7 separate regions of the Homo sapiens genome follow, and all the other regions are linked to region 7. The links are contacts of gene promoters, found by promoter capture Hi-C in blood cells and fetal thymus (Javierre and others, 2016). All regions are on one chromosome and are shown on one strand. The core of a region is centred on a gene start or on the middle of the fragment in contact, and the rest is flanking DNA. Distances in the headings are between cores, read along the strand shown.

What was found. The method cuts DNA at HindIII sites, captures the fragments that hold promoters and counts their contacts. A CHiCAGO score of 5 or more calls a contact.
Region 1: a contact is called between a fragment that was not itself captured here and the fragment with the promoter of LINC01948 in region 7, in 2 of 17 cell types (naive B cells and total B cells). The highest score is 7.0, in naive B cells.
Region 2: a contact is called between a fragment that was not itself captured here and the fragment with the promoter of LINC01948 in region 7, in 3 of 17 cell types (total B cells, naive B cells and non-activated CD4 T cells). The highest score is 10.9, in total B cells.
Region 3: a contact is called between a fragment that was not itself captured here and the fragment with the promoter of LINC01948 in region 7, in 10 of 17 cell types (total B cells, naive B cells, M2 macrophages and 7 more). The highest score is 24.7, in total B cells.
Region 4: a fragment that was not itself captured here is called in contact with the fragment with the promoter of LINC01948 in region 7 in 2 of 17 cell types (naive B cells and neutrophils); the score reaches 8.1 in naive B cells.
Region 5: a fragment that was not itself captured here is called in contact with the fragment with the promoter of LINC01948 in region 7 in 2 of 17 cell types (total B cells and naive B cells); the score reaches 7.3 in total B cells.
Region 6: a fragment that was not itself captured here is called in contact with the fragment with the promoter of LINC01948 in region 7 in 6 of 17 cell types (total B cells, naive B cells, non-activated CD4 T cells and 3 more); the score reaches 16.5 in total B cells.

Annotation. Positions count from the first base shown.
Region 1 is chr5:56,720,585-56,723,284 of GRCh38, reverse strand. No RefSeq gene overlaps it. Among named protein-coding and RNA genes, the nearest start is that of MAP3K1, 94 kb to the left of the region's middle. The HindIII fragment of the contact is 4,821 bases long and covers 1-2,700 here.
Region 2 is chr5:56,683,996-56,686,695 of GRCh38, reverse strand. No RefSeq gene overlaps it. Among named protein-coding and RNA genes, the nearest start is that of C5orf67, 79 kb to the right of the region's middle. RefSeq lists an enhancer at 1-88. The HindIII fragment of the contact is 3,405 bases long and covers 1-2,700 here.
Region 3 is chr5:56,276,186-56,278,885 of GRCh38, reverse strand. It overlaps the pseudogene PSMC1P4. Among named protein-coding and RNA genes, the nearest start is that of ANKRD55, 44 kb to the right of the region's middle. The HindIII fragment of the contact is 218 bases long and covers 1,290-1,507 here.
Region 4 is chr5:56,255,366-56,258,065 of GRCh38, reverse strand. No RefSeq gene overlaps it. Among named protein-coding and RNA genes, the nearest start is that of ANKRD55, 23 kb to the right of the region's middle. RefSeq lists an enhancer at 1-447. The HindIII fragment of the contact is 8,279 bases long and covers 1-2,700 here.
Region 5 is chr5:56,294,165-56,296,864 of GRCh38, reverse strand. LOC105378977 (a long non-coding RNA gene) reads right to left here and starts at 429. Exons shown (of 3, transcript XR_948342.3): 1 at 85-429. The HindIII fragment of the contact is 1,752 bases long and covers 396-2,147 here.
Region 6 is chr5:56,703,160-56,705,859 of GRCh38, reverse strand. No RefSeq gene overlaps it. Among named protein-coding and RNA genes, the nearest start is that of C5orf67, 98 kb to the right of the region's middle. The HindIII fragment of the contact is 5,252 bases long and covers 1-2,700 here.
Region 7 is chr5:56,480,423-56,483,122 of GRCh38, reverse strand. LINC01948 (long intergenic non-protein coding RNA 1948) reads left to right here and starts at 1,354. Exons shown (of 5, transcript NR_104664.1): 1 at 1,354-1,570. RefSeq lists an enhancer at 1,426-1,585. The HindIII fragment of the contact is 6,332 bases long and covers 1-2,700 here.

The sequences.
Region 1 (2,700 bases), core at 190-2,689, 240 kb before region 7:
GGTCCATAAGATACTTTCCTACTCAATGTACCTTAGTGTGGTCTCCTTGCCTTGGTCATGGTCTTCACACATACTGGATTTACAGATTCATAATAATGCCAGATTACTTTTCTAGCTTCACGAACATAGCCATTAATTACATAAACAGGCACGTGGCTAAGAACAGAGATAATCAGGAATGTCATTGTGAGGCCCGTTGTGCCTCAACAATTTTCATGAATTAACATGACTTTTTAGTATCTGTTGATTGAGAAATTACATAAGGTGAAAAAGAAGCTATTGTGAATTCAGTTACGTGGTCTCTGTTTAAATATAATTAAATATAACTATTGATTTTTAGTTATATAACTAATATACATCTACATTTTCATTGACTAAATTAGATGCAACCCATAAAGCTATAGCCTCTTCTCATTTCTTGACCTGAGTTCCAATTCTAAGCTCAACCTCTAGTACTACTACTATAGCATGTATCTATCCATACCTTTTCTCTGTTCTCATATACGTATATATGCACCTATAAAAATATTTGGTACTGCTTCTTATATGTATATATATGTGGGTATGTATCACACTATATGTATCATGCTGCAACTTCAAACTATGTCTTGGAAGTCATTATTACTTTTTAATCCCTGTATAATATAACATGGTTTATTTATCATTCTCCTACTGTATTTACTTCCATAAATGCAAAACCCAGAGTCATGAATGCCTGCTCCTTCAGTAAAAGAGAAATTTGAAAACCGCCCACTGGCCCAGGGAAGCTCTCAGGAAATGCAAGAATACCCTGGGTTTCGATGGAAAAAATACTTCCCATGATAAATGGAAACTTCACAAGTGTGCCATGCATGGGTGTGGAATCCAAATTTACCCTACGGGTATGTTGGGGAATCCCAAGCTGAGAAATTAATGTAGAAACTGACTATGGCCTGATGAAAACATGGGGGCTTCTTTTAGATGAAGTCTCAAAATCACTCTCTATGTCCTTTTTTACAATTCCCAACATACAAAATACACCCCACCCCATGCCACAGAACAAAATGATAGAACAAAAAGCAGAAAAGTTTATATCGCAAAACTTAGGCAATATGAAATGTAGAATGCTACAAAATAAATATGTTTAAAGTAAGAAAATAAGGGAAAATCATAATAATGGAACAGAATAATAAAAAAGAGAACAGGTTCAGGGGCAAAATATTACATAAAACTTTAGAGGCTGGGAGTGGTGGCTCACGCCTATAATCCCAGCACTTTGGGAGGCCGAGGCAGGCCGATCATGAGGTCAGGCGATTAAGACCATCCTGGCCAACATGGTGAAACCCCATCTCTACTAAAATGCAAACAATTAGCTGGGCGTAGTGGTGCACGCCTATAGTCCCAGCTACTGGGGAGGCTGAGGCAGGGGAATTGCTTGAACCTGGGAGGCAGGGGTCGCAGTGAGCCGAGATCGCACCACTGCACTCCAGCCTGGTGACAGAGCGAGACTCCATCTCAAAACAACAACAACAACAAAAAACACTTTAGAAAGAAAAACTATATCTATTGAAAATAATCGTGCCTTGTAAATAAACACTGATGAAAGGTAAAGGTTTGGTTATATAACTAATATACATCTACTTATTTCAAGATCTAATTATTAGTGATTAAATAGTGAAAGTGAAGCAATAGTGCATATTCCATGCCAGTATTCTATAAATGCATTGACTTGTCATGTTTTTCCATTCATCTAATTTTAAGAGCAAGTCCTCTTTATCCAAAATAACATAAGCCACATAAATAATTACCCAAGGCACAAAAAATATAAATGAAATCCAAGGTCTTCAGAAGTCTCTGGACTGAAGTCTTTTAGTCTTCTTTGACTTTTGACTTCTGTTTTAGGAAATAAATTTGCCTGTGGAAATTGAAGGACCATACCACGTAAGTATAAAATAGTTCTGAAGGCAAAAGGAAAGTGCCTGTAAAAGTCAAACTTTAAACCTCAGGAACATCTTGCGTCCCATTAGAGCAATGAAGAAAATCTTGTTTTGCTTCTGGGATTTGGCATTGCAATAGCCTGGGGAACTGGACACTGCTTCCCTTCAGAAATAAAGTTGTCCAATATGTTTAGACTGCAAAGAACTTCTAATTGATGGTGGTGCTAATGAAGCAGTTGCATATATTCTATGCTGAGGGGACAATTGAGCACAAGAATAGGTCCAAATAATTTTTCCTTTATAAGTAGGTGAGGTGCCTTTTTTTTTTTTTTTGCTGCCTTGCTGCTGTTAGGAACTGCATCCTCCTCCCAAGTCACTGCTGAGAGTCTGGATCTTTTGTGTACAATTGTCAAGGGTTTTCTTACGCTTTCAAAATAAGACTATCCCAAGAATACTCATATTTTTGTTTCTACAACATTTGGGATGCCAATTTCTAAACTGAGCGATAAAATGTAATCTGCTAAATATGAAGGAATCTTTATTAAGATATCAATTATTGTCTGAACTTCTAATCCATCTCTTCTGCTTAGGAATTTTTTTAATGAATATTATTTGTCAATGAGAATATCAAGTGTTAAATGATTTATTAAAATAAGACAATACAGCTCTAAGTTAATTACCATAGAAAAGGTAACTTTTCTAGAGATCACAGTGTATACAACTTAGATTTATTGGAAGGCTTTAGAGTATATAAACTTTTTATATGAACCATTTGAAAAACTGA
Region 2 (2,700 bases), core at 150-2,649, 200 kb before region 7:
TTAGTTTTGCTCACATTTTTTTTTTTTTTAACTTTTTCAGTTCCTGTTTTTTAGCTTTTGTTTTTAAGCCTGTGGGCTCTCAGGGTCAAACTTAGGTTAATTGACGTGTTTTTTAAATCAAAGTTTTGAGATAAACCAAACTTTCATAGCTAGATAGTAAAGCCCTGATCACAAGGGTTTTAAAATCAAACAGGGGGTCTTTGCACACACGGAGCTCTGTGGCTTTGTGTCTGCATATGCATATGGCTACGTGTGAAGGCAGGAGTAAATGTTCCTTCAACTTGCTGAGCCTCCTCTGTAAATTGAGGGGTTTGGAACAGTGACCTGTAACTACAGAATATGGGCTAACAGTTGTTGGGCGCTTACTGTATGCCAGACACTAAATTCTTAACATGGATTATTTTATTTACTCCTCACCATGTTCCTAGATGTCCATACTATTATGATCACTGCCTCTGTTTAGAGATTAGGAACTGAGGTTTAGGGAGGTTAAGTAACTTTCTCAAGGTCACACAGCTAGTGAAGGCTGGAGCTGGGATTTTGATCCCAGACCCCATGATGATAATCACTCTGCTTACATGACCTCCCAAAATAACTTTGTCTCCACTTTGTTAAGATGAGTTCTCCAAGGCCAGCCCTCCACTGAGCCTATTTCCTCCTAGCCAAGTTGCGTTTTGTCATCTGTGCTGAGACATGAGTGGTTACACTGGGTCATGACTGTTAGGCCAACAGGTTAAGCTAATTCCAAATGTGGATAACTGAGTAAGAAGGACTTTAAGTTAGCTTTTCTTGATAACAGGAATGTAAGACTGTGAGCTGGAAGGAACACTACAGAATGAATCATTTTCATTAACAGCAACTTGCTGGTGCACCCATGTTCATAGCAGAGCTATTCACAATAGTCAAGAAGTAGAAGCCACACAAAGTGTATACGGATGGATGAATGAATAGACAAAATGTGGTATTTGCATGAGTAGAATACTATTCAGCCTTAAAAAGGAAGTTACTACATGGATGAACTTCAAGGACATTATGCTAAGTGAAACAAGCCAGTCACAGAAGGACAAATACTGTATGACTTCACTTCTATGAGATATCTAGAGTATGTGAAGTCATAAAAATAGAAGGTAGAAGGTGGCTGCCAAGGGCTGGGGAAGGGAGAAACAAGGAGTTGTTTAATGGATAGAAAATTTTAGTTTTGCAAGATGAAAAGGTTCTGGAGACTCATTGTACAACAGTGCAAATATACTTAACACTATTGAACTGAACAGTGAAAATGGCTAACATGATTAATTCTATGTATATTTCACCACAATTAAAACACAAACAAATAAAAGAATAAGTAACATTCTTGATCTGTGCACTGAAAATTGGTCTTAAGCCAAAATAACCTTACTGTCACATACCTTTAAAGAGATGCTTACAGTCTTTCTTTATGGGGGGAATTGTGAACATGAATTTAATGATTTGTCTTGAATGTTAATTTATTACTCTGAGTTTATTGTGCATCTATAGTGGTTAGAGGGCACAATAATTGTACCTACAGCATAGGGAATGTACAATGCATTTGGATCACTTAGCATAGTGAAAAATAAAATATTTGGAGAAATGACAAATTTTAAAAAGCAATTTTCCAGTTTTAAAATAGAAATACATAGTTTCTCCAAATTAATGCACTGGCAGATTGCTTTTTCACCTTACAGAATCTCTAAACACATCCACACGATTATATGAGGACCAGAACTGTCTTTCTGGATAACTGAGTACAGAACTATGCCAAGCCTTCCGTATAGACTAGTGAGCAGAACAAGTCTTCCTGGATGAACAGCCACTTCTGGGAAAACTAGGTGGAAATGCAGATTCAGCAACTCACAGCCCGGAACCTTTAGGTAAATTTTAACACAAGAGAATTGTCTCATGTACTGGCAGTAGCTCCTTCTGGAATGTATGCCCTGATGGACTTCATTCAGGGCAGGTTGCTGAAAATTTGTGTAGGATGTAAAAATCTGAATAACAGATTAGGAAGGAGCCCCAAGAAACAGTGTGGTTCATCAAGCTGCAAAGGCAGGATGTCTAAGTTTGGTTCCCCAAAAGCAAGCCCGACAGTAGATCTCACGTGCAGGTAGTTTATTTAGGAGTTGAACCCAAGAAGCAGGAATGAGGGGATGGAGAGAATGTGGCAGAAAGGAAAATATTAGGGTATGTTATCAAGGCTGATGCTGTGGACAACGGGAGCATGGTTACCCTGGCGTTCTAAGAAGTGCATGGAAAGTCTCCAGATTGTCCTTTGTTATGCTGGAGCCTGGGGCACTTCTTCACAGTTCTCACGCCTCATTGCTTGAGGATTTCCAAGCTGACTTGAAAGTGGCCTGCCTGGGCTCCCACACCTTCACAGGAGGTCCTGAGGCAGAAAGCAAGAAAATGACCTGAGATTTCTAGAACTCAATGCCAAAACCAGGGCTGAAATCAGAGGTGGGCTGAGGAGATGTGATGTGAGCACAAAGAGTTGACTGGGAAGTCACTTAATATGAGTCCTTGTAAGCCACTCATATTAAGTCCTTGTGGCATACATGGAGAAAGGCAGTGTGGTGTAGTGGTTAAGCCTGTGGGCCTGTATCAGACAGCCTAGGTTTGAATCCTGATTTCATCAACTTTATCAGGCACATGTTCTTGAAGAAGCCACTTTTCTTAGTCCATTTG
Region 3 (2,700 bases), core at 149-2,648, 200 kb after region 7:
GGTCCCTGACTATTCTTCAGTCACTCAGCAGACATTCATTGAGTGACTAGAATCTGCTAGGCACCACTCCGGGTGTTAGGTGTCCATTGCTGTCCTTAGAAGCAAGCTGCGCTGCTCTGCTGGGGCTTCCCTTCTCCCCTTTCCTGGATGCTTTTCATTCCCAGCCCCAGAGTCTAACCCCGAGACCTCCAGGGCCACTCACCACAGCATTCCTGAAGACTTAGAAGAGGTGCTTTTGTGTGCAGCCCTTTCCTCCAAGACCCTGGAATGCACGTTCGCAGGACTTGCTGATTTATAGCCATGTTGCCTTTCAAAGAATTCCCTGGCCTGCGTTAAGTCAACAGATTTGAGAAAAGGCTGGTTAAAAGTTCTGTCACGGGAGCCAGTTGTTCCTTGTGTTCGCAGGATGCTTTCTTTAACCCTGGGTCCTGCTCAGGCCAGTAACAGCACACCCTGGGCCTACAACTGCTCAGGATCTGTGTGTAAGACATGGAAACTCTGTCATATAAATGTATTTAGTGCTCCTCCCTCGAATAGCCCTAAGCCCTGTCATATAAATGTATTTACTGCCCTTCCCTCGAATAGCCCTAAGCCTCTATTCTCTCATTTATCATTCTTTGTTTTTTACTGCCTTAATGGTTTTTGTGATCATATTAGCCTATTTTCTATTTTTATCCTCTTGTCATTCTGCCCATCAACTGAGAGCAGTGGCCATATCCTGTTTGTACATGCCGACCTTTCTGAAAACAATTCATTCATTCATTCATTCATTCATCCACCCACCCATCCATTCAACAATCCTGGCCCTGTCCTGGGAACTGAGGATGCAGCAATAGAGAAATAAAGATGGCTGCTGCCTGCCAGGTGCACTGCCCAGATCCTTGTTCAGGGTCACTCTGCTCATTCCCCAGCTGCCAGGATTGTTACTGGCTGATGACCCACATTGAGTCCTCCCTATGAATTGCCCTTGGCCAAAGGGAGCTGTGTCCCCTTCCTGGGGACACTCTGCATCCAATGACTGGCTGATTTGGGGCCCGCCCCCTTTGTCTCAATTCAGGACATCCCTGAAGCACTTCCCCAGCTTCAGGGCTCCCCTGGGAATCAGTGGAGACCTCTGTTGCAACTGAATCACAGTTCAAGTCTTCTCTGTGCCCAATCTTGCTTCCTTCACACCCTGTGGCTGCTGTGCCTGAGAGCACCCACCGCCATAACCCTCCTTGCACACAAATCTCCAGCTCAGAGTTTTGTTCCCAGGGAAGTCATCCTATGACACCTGCTATCATGAAGCTTATATACTAGGAGTGATAGAAAATAAACACAAATAGTAACACAGTTATGTGAAAAATTACATTGCTGTGGGAAGAAATAGAGTGGGGTCAGGGGATCAGGAATACAGATTGGGAAGATGATTAATTTTTCATATTCAATAGAATGATTGGACTGGCATCTCTGAGAATGTGACACTTGAGCAAAGACTTGAAATTAGCAAACTGAATGTCCAAAAGCTTCTGAATCCAAAATTGAGCCTGGATCAGTCAGGATTTCCCAGAGAAACAGCACCAATAGGATGTGAATGTGTGTATGTGTGTGTGTGTGTACATATATGTGAATATGTACATGCATACACACTCAGATCTGTTTCAAGGAATTGGCTCATGGGATTGTGGAGCCTGGCAAGTCTGAAGCCTGCAGGGAAGGCCAGCAGCTGGAATAGGTGGGAGTTGATGCTTTAGTCTTAGGGCAGAATTTCTTCTTCTCTGGGAAACCTCAATTTTTGCTCTTAAGGCCTTCAAGGGATGAGGTGAGGCCCAACCACATTATGAAAGATAATCTGCTTTACTTATAGTCTACTATTTGTGAATGTTCATCACATCCCCAAATACCTTCACAGCAGCACCTAGGTTAGTATTTGATTAAGCATTGGGTACTATAGCCTAGCCAAGCTGACACAGGAACCTGACCATCACACCTACTCTGTCCCACAGGTACATATCCCAACACCTTTCCCTGCTTTACTTCTCTCCTTAACACCCATCAAGAGCTGACATTCTGTATATTTTACCCTCCCCAGTGTCTTACACCAAGCCCACTTCATTCATTTATGTAGTACCTGTTTATTCTCTTGAAAACATATAAGTTGGTAGCCTTCCAGTGTGAGTATCCCCAAGAGAAAATACGCATCAAAAATTAGGAACTTAGAAATGATAGTTGAGGTGGAGGAACTTCCAGCAGTGGCAGCTCAAGTGGCCAAGACAAGGTGGGTCAAAGTCAGGGTGATGGTCATGGTCCTAGACGTGGCAAGAAGGATGAAAAGGACAAGAAAAATAAGTACTAACCTCTTGTACCAACTAGAGTGGCGGAAAAAGAAGAAAAAACAAAGGGACAAGATGTTGCCAGTAAACTGCCACTGGTGACACTTCACACTCAGTGTCGGTTAAAATTACTGAAGTTAGAGAGAATTAAAGACTACCTTCTCATGGTGGAAGAATTCATTAGAAATCAGGAACAAATAAAACTATTAGAAGAAAAGCAAGAGGAGGGAAGATCAAAAGTGGATGATCTGAGGGGGACCCCAATGTCAGTAGGAAACTTGGAAGAGATCATCGATGACAATCATGCCATTGTGTCTACATCTGTGGGCTCAGAACACTATGACAGCATTATTTCATTTGTAGAGAAGGATCTGCTGGAACCTGGCTG
Region 4 (2,700 bases), core at 150-2,649, 230 kb after region 7:
CCATTTTGTTCTGTACTAAGAAAAATTCTTCTGCCTTGGGATGCTGTTAATCTATAACCTTACCCCCAACCCCGTGCTCTCTGAAACATGTGCTATGTCCACTAAGGGTTAAATGGATTAAGGTCCGTGCAAGATGTGCTTTGTTAAACAGATGCTTGAAGGCAGCATGCTCGTTAAGAGTCATCACCACTCCCTAATCTCAAGTACCCAGGGACACAAACACTGCGGAAGGCGGCAGGGCCCTCTGCCTAGGAAAACCAGAGACCTTTGTTCACATGTTTATCTGCTGACCTTCCCTCCACTATTGTCCTATGACCCTGCCAAATCCCCCTCTCCGAGAAACACCCAAGAATGATCAATAAATACTAAAAAAATTTAAAAAAAAATTATAAACGTTGCACAAAATACATAAAGCAATTGCCTGAAGGCACTGGAGACACCAAGCACAAGCGAGATTTAAAGAAAACCCTATGGCATGAGGTCCACATACATTCCAGATATTCTCTTGAGGACATGTACACACTGCAGAATAGGGATATACAAATACAACAGTCTTAGTGGGCTGAGAAAGTAGAAGTAAGAATTTGGAGCTGCCAAAGCAGGCAGGACTTAGGAAAGTCCTGAAGAAGGGAAACAACAAAGGTGCCTACAATTCTGCAAACTTATTTCCCTAAAGTTTATGGGTTCCTAAGCTGGCACACAAAATATGAAACAAGAAATAAAGAAATAGAAGGAGAGAAAGACACAAAGAAAGAGAGGGGGGAGGAAGGGAGGGAGGAGGGAGAGAGGAAAAGAAGGAAGGAAAGAAGGGAGGGAGAGAGGGAGGGGAGGAGAGAGAGAAAAGAAAGAAAGGAGAGAAAGAGAAAAGAAAGGAAAGAAAGAAGAAAGAAAGAGAAAGAAAGAAAGAAAGATAAAGAAAGAAAGAGAAAGAAAGAAAGAGAGAAGGAAGGGAAGGAGGGAGACAGGAAGGAAGGAATGAAGGAAGGGAGGCAGGGAGGGAGGGAAGGAGGATAGCTGAAGATCTGATCAGAGATTTCAGTACTAGGGAGGCAAAGGTCATAATTAAAACCTTTCCAAAATAGAAAAACCTTGGCGAATGTTCCAGGCTTTGAACCGTCCAGGCTTTGAACCAAATTATGGAAATCCAAGTAGAAATTTATTTAAAGTAAATAGATTTATAGGTGAATCAGATGTTAACAATAACTGACAGGGAGTTTAAAATAACTGTGATTAATATGGTCAAGAGAATGGAGAAAATGATAGACAAAATGGAAGAAAGGTTGGAGAATTTCATTGGGGAAATGAATCTATTTTTAAAAAGAGACAAACAATTGGTAAAATTTTTAAAGCACCAAAAACATCAATTATGTAGAATAAATCTGATAGAAGTTGTATAAGATCTCTACGATGAAAACTACAGATAGTTGCTGAGAGAAGTAAAAGAAGATCTAAGTAAATGACAGGTAATATCATGAACATGGAATTCAAAGATGCAACAGTCTTAAGATATCAAGTCATTCCAAATGGATATATAAATTCAATGCAATCCCAATAAAAATGCTATCAATTTTTTTGGTAGAAATTGATAAGCTATTTGTAAAATTGATATGGAAATAAAAAGAACTCTGAATAGCTAAGGCAATACTGAAGAAAAAAGACAAAACCTGATATCAAAGCTAGAGAAATTAAAACAGTATGGTACTGGAACAAGAAAAGACAACAGATCATGGAATAAATTAGACTTCAGAAACAGACCCACATCCATAGGATTTATGATAAATCTGATTTATGATAAAGGCATCACAGAAACTCAGTGGAGAAAGAATTATCTTTTCAATAAATGGTGGTGGTTCAAGTGTATATTCATATGGGAAAAAAAGACTCTTGTCCCTTACCTCACATTATACACAAAAATTAATTCAAGGTAGATCATATATCTAAAGACGAAAAGTAAAACAATAAAAATTCTAGAAGAAAACACAGTAAATATGTTCAGGGACCTCAGGTTAGGCCATAGTTTCTTAGACAGAACACATGGAAATACTGATAAATTGGATTTAATTAAAATAAAGAAATTCTGTTCAATGAATGACATGGTTAAGAGAATGGAAAAAGCAAACCTCAGACTGGTATAAAATATTTGTTATTCAGACATTTGCATGCACACACACATATGGCAAAGAATTTATATCTAGACTATATTCTTGTATAAAAGTTCTATAAATTGATAAGAAAAAGATATACAACACAATTTTTAATGTTGAGCCAGAATCCTGAACAAGCACTCCACAAAAGAGGATATGAAAATGATCAATATGCAAATGAGAAAGGTGTTCAGCATCATTATTCATGAGAAACAAAACACATCTTGATACCATGTGCTGCTTTGTAGTCTAGAAATGCCAATATCTCCCCTTGAAAAAGCAATTACAAAGCCACAGCTCTGAATACCAGAAAGTGAATTAGAATAAGTGTCAATTATTATAAACAGCCTTGTTTAATTTGGGGAATGGGGTTTCTGCTAAGGTTTTTCATCTTGCAGTGAACGGATTTTGATTCTCTATTGCAGTTATTTAAGTCACTCTTGCCAGCCTAGTGCAAAAAGTGAAAAGTCATAACAGAAACCTTACTCTTGGAATTAAACAGGGCTGCTCACAATTGTTGAAATCCATCTGAATTCACATTCTCATATTCAAAGCT
Region 5 (2,700 bases), core at 22-2,521, 190 kb after region 7:
CCTAAAAAGTATAGACAGTGCAGATATATCCTTGGGTCCCATGGCCAGTGCCCAGTTTTCCTTTTGTGGGGAGAAAAGCCTTACCTGCTTTGCAGAGTTGCTTGTCAGAGCCTAGTGTGTCCGAAATTGGTGGGTTCTTGGTCTCACTGACTTCAAGAATGAAGCCACGGACCCTCGCGGTGAGTGTTACAGCTCTTAAAGTGGCACGTCTGGAGTTTGTTCCTTCTGATGTTTGGATGTGTTCGGAGTTTTTTCCTTCTAGGGGGTTCGTGGTCTCACTGGCTCAGGAGTGAAGCTGCAGACCTTCGAGGTGAGTGTTACAGCTCATAAAAGCAGTGTGGACCCAAAGAGTGAGCAGTAGCAAGATTTATTGCAAAGGACGAAAGAACAAAGCTTCCACGGTGTCGAAGGTGACCCGAGCGGGTTGCCACTGCTGGCTTGGGTGGCCTGCTTTTATTCTCTTATCTGGCCCCACCCACATCCTGCTGATTGGTAGAGCCAAGTGGTCTGTTTTGACAGGGCGCTGATTGGTGCGTTTACAATCCCTGAGCTAGACACAAAGGTTCTCCACCGTCCCCACCAGATTAGCTAGATAGAGTGTCAACACAAAGGTTCTCCAAGGCCCCACCAGAGTAGCTACATACAGAGTGTCGATTGGTGCATTCACAAACCCTGAGCTAGACACAGGGTGCTGATTGGTGTATTTACAAACCTTGAGCTAGATACAGAGTGCCGATTCGTGTATTTACAATCCCTGAGCTAGACATAAAGGTTCTCCAAGGCCCCATCAGAGTAGCTAGAAACAGAGTGTGGATTGGTGCATTCACAAACCCTGAGCTAGACACAGGGTGCTGATTGGTGTGTTTACAAACCTTGAGCTAGATACAGAGTGCAGAGTGGTGTATTTACAATCCCTGAGCTAGACATAAAGGTTCTCCAAGGTCCCACCAGAGTAGCTAGATACAGGGTGTCCATTGGTGCATTCACAAACCCTGAGCTAGACACAGGGTGCTGATTGGTGTATTTACAATCCCTGAAGCTAGACATAAAGGTTCTCCATGTCCCCACCAGACTCAGGAGCCCAGCTGGCTTCACCCAGTGGATCCCTCACAGGGGCTGCAGGTGGAGCTGCCTGCCAGTCCCGTGCCGTGCACCTGCACTCCTCAGCCCTTGGGTGGTCGATGGGAGTGGGTGCCATGGAGCAGGGAGCCGTGCTAGTCGGGGAGGCTCGGGCTGCACAGGAGCCCATGGAGGGAGTGGGAGGCTCAGGCATGGAGGGCTGCAGGTCCTGAGCCCTGCCTCGTGGGAAGGCAGCTAAGGCCCGGTGAAAAATTGAGCACAGCGCCGGTGGGCTGGCACTGCTGGGGGACCCAGTACACCCTCCGCAGCAGCTGGCCCGGGTGCTAAGCCCCTCATTGCCCGGGGCCGGCTGCTCCGAGTGCCACGCCCAACCGGAACTCCAGCTGGCCCGCAAGTGCGGCACGCAGCCCCGGTTCCCGCTCGCACCTCTCCCTCCACACCTCCCTGCAAGCTGAGGGAGCCGGCTCCGGCCTTGGCCAGCCCAGAAAGGGGCTCCCACAGTGCAGCAGTGAGCTGAAGGGCTCCTCAAGTGCCGCCAAAGTGGGAGCCCAGGCAGAGGAGGCGCCGAGAGTGAGCGAGGGCTGTGAGGACTGCCAGCACAGTGTCACCTCTCACTAGTATAAGATGATACTTGAGATAAAGTAGATGGGAAGGTGGGATCTCCTAGTGACTCAAACCCATTCACAGTGCATGCTACCAGAGAGCATTGTTTTTCTATCCTCATCCTTTCTTTCCATATCCTTCCAGTAAATGGCCTGTTGCGTGAGGTACAGCTCAATGGGGCAGGACCACTGGACTTGCAGCAGGAACCGAGCTTGAGGCACCACCATCAGCACTCCTCCAACCCAAATGGTCTCCTCGGCATGGGGAGAGAGGGCCCAACTGCATCCACATCCATGGCAAAATGAGGGAAGGGCCTCCTAGCCTGGACACAAAGACCCTCATGGAGATGGCAGACCTTACCAGGATCACCCCTGTTGTCAATGTTCAACACTATTCTAGGGAGTCGTAATTCAGTATCTGCTAAGTAGCTCCATGACATCTGGTTGGAAAATACAAAATAAGCTTATCTATGATTCATCCACACAGACCACACGCAGCTACCTGGGACCAACACAAGTCAGTTCTCTTGGCTAGGTAAGGTGTCTGTTAGGGACTAGGAGCACACACAGAAATGACAGCACTGCTGGCTAGAAGTTGACTTGGGACCCATTATGGGAAGCTCTAAATGTCCAGGTAGGAGTGGCTAGGCTATGTTTCAAGGAGAGATGTAACATCTGGAGCCCAACTCCTTTCTCTTCCACAAATGTGGGTTGGAATACATTTTCTGCTGTGCTCTGAATTGAAACAAGGAAGAATTGCAAGAGTAAAACCAAGAATAAACGCTTCAGAAGCATCTTTTAAGACCATGCAGCAGCCCCTGAAAATAAAATTTGGGGTTATTCTGCATGGGGACATAAAAAACACAAACATAAATGCCCTCTGAAGACAAACATCTCCAAAGTAATATAATGAATAGGGAGTGCAAAAGTAAGAGAAGGAACAAATCTCGGCCTCAACACATGGCAACTTTGCTGTAAATTATAACAAAGTGTGTTAGTTTTAGATTTGTTTCACTAA
Region 6 (2,700 bases), core at 21-2,520, 220 kb before region 7:
AATTCTGTACTTCTATAATGGCACAGGAATAAAAAGCAGATAGATGAAATATGTAAGGTAAAAAGCAGAAAAAAATTCATGTGTTTAATTTTAAGTGGAGAATTTGTGCAGGGGAGAGGTTGCCTCACGAGAGGATGATTGGTATGGAAACCATGTTTGTAACAGTCATGGCAGAAGGAATTGGAGAGTCTTTGGCTGTCTTCACATATTTGGGCATAGAGGAAGGAAATGACGGCTGTTTGTTTTTACAGCGGGAAAACCTGGATGAGTTAACAGTACGGGGTAGTGGATAAGAGTGTGGGCCCTAGAGTGAGAAATCATCACGGGCAAGTCCTGGATCTTCTTAGTGCCTTGGCCCGATTATCTTTGTTAGGTTCCTCCAGAAGTAGACCTAGAGATCAGGTTTCAAAATGCAAATACTAGAAGGTATTCCAGGAAACACTGGTAAGAGAGTGGGAAAGTGAGCAGGGGGAGGTAAGGCAGCCAATAACAGGTGAATTATCAAGCGTGTTACAATTGCAGACAAACCAGAGCTTAACCCCTCTAGGGAACTCTGGGAGCCAGTGTAGACCACATAACTCAGAGCCAACCCACTTGAGAAGCAATCCTCTCAGTCATTGATTGAGGAATGCTTCTAGGAGGTGTTAATTCTCTGGTACTTCTGACCAAACATACTGCAGGAAAGTGGGCTTTTGTACTGGAGAATGATCTCTGGCCAAGAGCTGCAGGTGCTGGCATTGGGGAGTTCTGCTTGCCTGCACTAAAATGGGGAGGCTTGAGGGGAGGTGGATAGGGCACAGGCAGCATCTGCTACACTCTACCTAGAAAATGGGTGTATAATTAATGAATGTATTTACCACATATGGTGCTTATGAAAATCAAACTGTACATGCAAAGCTCTTAGGACACTACTTGGCATAAAATAAGCACTTGATAATGTTACTATTATTATCATTAAAATCAGATTAATTATGTTTGGCAAAAATGCCCATCAACAAGCTGTCTGGTGATATCATTTGCTCATGTCAAAGGAGGGAGAACAGTGGAAGCTCCCCATTGAAGCAATCTGTAAAAGCATTCCTATGCTGCATGGGCAGCTGGGCTGGGGCCTGTGACGTGCCCTCCTACCCTGCATTTCCATGCTTATTCAAATCAACATGCCTGTGGCAGACATATTTTGTGCCCCGGGCTACATGCATTCTGCTCACCTGATTTCAGCTGCAGCTATGGTGAACAGATCCAGTTTTGCCACCAGGAGCCTACCTCAAGCACCTGCTGCAACATCTCTCAGCTTCTTTCCTTGAGATTTTTTTTTCAAAGCAGGGCAGATTGGATGTTCATAGGAGTTAGTGCCCCTGGGGGGCATTATAGATAATGAAAACATAGTCCTTATCCTCTGAGAGCTGGTGGGGCTGAGTAGAGATGGTAAAGTAAAATTATTAAAATATACCTGCTAAATTAGAAATATATTGGAGGTATGCTGAGTGGAGCTGGGGAAACCTTGAGAGAAGGAGACATATGAGCTAAATCCTGGAGGTTGAGTAGAAGTCAAACCAGCAGAGAAAAGGAAAAGGGTTTTCACTCTGAGAGGCCAACAGGCAAGAGGGTAGGGCACCAAAGGGAGAGCAGATGAGCAATCTACTGAGGCTGGGCCAGGACGGCATGGGGCACAGAGCTCCTGAGATGAGGGAGAAAGGTGAGCGGGGTGGAACAGGAAGGACTTGGTGTGTTATGCTAGTGTGTGTGGACTTTCCCCTGCAGGCAGTGGGAGCCTCTGAGACTTTTAAATCACAAGAGGGACATGACCAGATCTGTCCTTTACCAAGTTTTCTCTGGGGCAGTGGGAAGGGTAGACTGTGGTGGGAAGAAAGCACAGGTGGGCAGATGAATTAGGAGGCCATTCCAGCAAGGGAGAACAATAATGACAGCCTAAACTAGGACAACTGAGCAAGTGGGGACTGTAGTGATTTACACAATCAAGTTTTTTAAAGGACATGAATTAGAAGATGGAAAAAGAGATGGGAGGGAAGTGGCAGCTTTTCTCTTGTTAGAGGCCGAAGCAAAGCATTTGGAGAGAACTGCCCCATCAGTTTTTTTCTCAAATGGCTTACAGATGAAGTCTTTTTTTTCCCCTCTCTTGAAATAGGCCCCAGAAGGACAATGCCACACTCCTTTTTTTAAATCCACTACTAACTCATATCCAGATTCATTTCTAGAAGGCTTGATTCAAATGAACCAATATCAGCATCTCCTTCACAGGTCTTGGACAGAATATTAGATTCCTTGGCTGTTTTTTGTTTCTTGATGTATGGAGCTCTTTCCTAAATGGTACATTAAAAGATGCCTTTAAAACATGCATTGGAATGCGGAGGAAATAATGTGGACTCATGCCAGCCATTTGCAAGCATGATAAATGATTTGAAGAAAGATGCTTGCCAGGTTCATCTTCCTACTCAGAGGTTGGGGAAAATATCAGGTGCAATATAAATATAGCCCTTTAGGGGAAAGTCGGAAAGAAGAGTATCTCTACTAGAGATGGACAAAAAACTAGGTCAAAAAAACCCCTGCGATTATAAAAGAACGAGAGATAGGGCAAGGGAGAATGATTTTCATCCTGTGACCTACAGAACTCTGGAAACCCATCTGTAACAGTTTATGATTAGAAAAGTGCAGAGATACCAACATCTATATGATACATTC
Region 7 (2,700 bases), core at 105-2,604:
ATCTCATCGTGGTTTTGATTTGCATTTCTCTGATAATCAGCAATGCTGAGCATCTTTTCACATTTGTTGGCTGCTTGCATGTCTTCTTTTGAGAAGTGTCTGTTCATGTCTTTTGCCCACTTTTTAACAGGGTTGTTTGTGTTTGTGTTTTGCTTGCATAGCTGCTTTCCATGTTCTTTTCTATGTTATCTAGAACTATAATAAAAGTAACTGCCCAGCTCTTTGGGAGGCTGGGGCAGGCGAATCACTTGAGGTCAGGAGTTCAAGGGTAGCCTGGCCAATATGGTGAAACCCTGTCTCTATTAAAAATACAAAAATTAGCCGAGTGTGGTGGCACACACCTGGATTCCCAGCTACTCAGGAGGCTGAGGCAGGAGAATTACTTGAACCCCCAAGGCGGAGGTTGCAGTGAGCCCAGATCGCACCACTGTACTCCAGCCTGGGAGACAGAGTGAGACAGCGTCTCAAAAAAACAAAAAAAAAGGAACTAGGTCTAAGACAGGGTACCCAATCTATTTCTAAGAAGATGCTACTTCTCATTTTCTGGAAACACTGTAGCAAAGAGGAAGGGACAATAATGTCCCATAGTGGGTGGGCAGATATAAAAACCCCAAGATGTTCATTTCAGGCCCAAAGTGACTACTGCTTGCTACCCTCACCTTTCTCTGCTGGAACACTACCAGCCCCTGTGAGATGTGGGTGATCTCATGGGTGTTTGGAAGAATCCCAGTACCAGGCTAGGGGATCATCAAAGCTGACTGGATCAGTCCTGCTAGATCAGGAAGCCTTACTGAGTAAGGCTAATGCCAGGTCTCCAAACTGCCACTGAGCATCAGGGGTCCTTCCCACAATATCTTTGTTTCTCTAGGTCAAGAAATGATGCCGTCCCTAGAAACAGCGCAATGTTTATGTAAGAGTCAACTCAGAGACCTTGTGCCGGTACAAGAGGTACTATCTCATCCTGCTCCCCTGCAGGCACTAAATGAGACAAAATTCCTTCTGGAGTTCAAGTCCAGAAGGCTGACTATGCTGTTAATGGCAGTATACTGAGTTAAGAGAATTCGGGGAGACGGGAATATTGGGTCCACGATTCTGCCTGGAGGGAAGAATTGTGGTCTCCTCAGTCCTGTGGAGTAGGGGTCCGGGCTGATGATAGCGCCTCCTGGTGCAGAGTATACAAACAGCTGAAGATCTGCCTGGACCCCCTACCCCTCTCTTTTTTCCTTGTGGAAACTGTGTATAATTTGGAAAGAGCAAGGACATCCTGGCTCGCAGCTGGCCAGCTCCACCTGCGACCTGGACAGCCTCGCCCCTCCCTGCGGAGCCAGGCGAGTTCACAGGGCTGCCTCCGCTTCTTGCAGCATGTCTGCTCTCCTGGCCTGGCCTCTCCAGACCTTTCCCTCCACGGGCAGCGATTTCCAAGGCTCTCAAGACTCCAAACCACGTCGTTTTGGGAGTGAAAAAGTGAAAGCACACATCGTGTCATTAGAGCAGCAGGGACCAGCTGCTGGGTCAACACTTCCGAAAACAGCGCTTCCTGGGGAGCGACCGGAGCATCTCAGAATCTACGGTTTGACCTCCTGCCAATTCTCATGGTGTCTTTATACATTTTAACACAAAAATAAGATGTTTTCACTTGAGAGCGAGAGGGAAATGAACTGTTAAGGTGCTCTGTCGCCAGAGAAGTGAAGTTGGGGGGTAAATTTTAGGAACCCCCGACCCCCCTACCGAGGGAGGATGCGAAGTCGGCTCCTGAAACGCGAGCGAAACCCCCGCGCGCTTCCCGGGGTGACGCACATGTCTGTGTTTCTTTTTGCTTTTGACCAAAAGTCGTAGGGAGGGTCCTCCTCAGGGGACAGTCGCGGGCGCTGTGCCAGTCCTTCCTGTCCCCCCACCAAAGTCAACCCCAGCCCCAGGCCAAGGCCGCCCCGGCCGGAAGAGCCAGCTGGTGGGGGCCGTGGGGGGCGCGGCGGGCGCGCGGGGCTGGGGGCGGCGGGTCCGCCTACCCCGCCTTCCTGGCGTGGAGAGTTTCGGCCCCAGCCTCGCTGGCGTGGACTCTGCCTGAACCACGCCTGGGATGCTTTTGCCAAAGGAAACTTGGGGGGTGGGGGCGGGGCGGGCGACGATTCCCCCCCTCCCCACCCCGCCCCTGTCCTCCTCGGCCGGGAGCCGCGCTGGGCCGGGGTCAGCTGGCTGCCTTTGTGGCCGCTTCCCAGGAAGGAAGAAGCGTTGTCTGCAGATCAGTTGATCCGCGGGCTTTCCTGTGTCGGAATGCCGCCGTTTTCCGGGGACGGCTGCCACCCCCGTGATTCCCAGCCGGGGCTGCCGGCCGTGCGTAAGAGCCGGATAAATAGGCCATTGTGAGGCCGTTCAGATCTAGGTTTCTTATCACAGTATCCACCAGCGAGAAGCAGATTCGGCCCCTGATGGAGCTCATCCCAGCTTCTCTTTTCTTTCTCTGCACAGTTACAGCCATTTCTATTTTTTGCAGTTGTAAAGGGAATATTCAGAAAGCAATTTATTGTGTGCGACAGGGACTTAAGGGAGCGTGTCTGCAGACCGTGTTCCCACCGGGGTTGGGGTTCGCAACCTTGAGTTTAGCTCGATGGGCTTTGGTGTGTGAGGTTTCTACCCGCCCATCGCCCAAGGCAGGCACGTCCTTAAACACCAGCTGCAAGTATCAGGAGGGCAAGTCCGTAG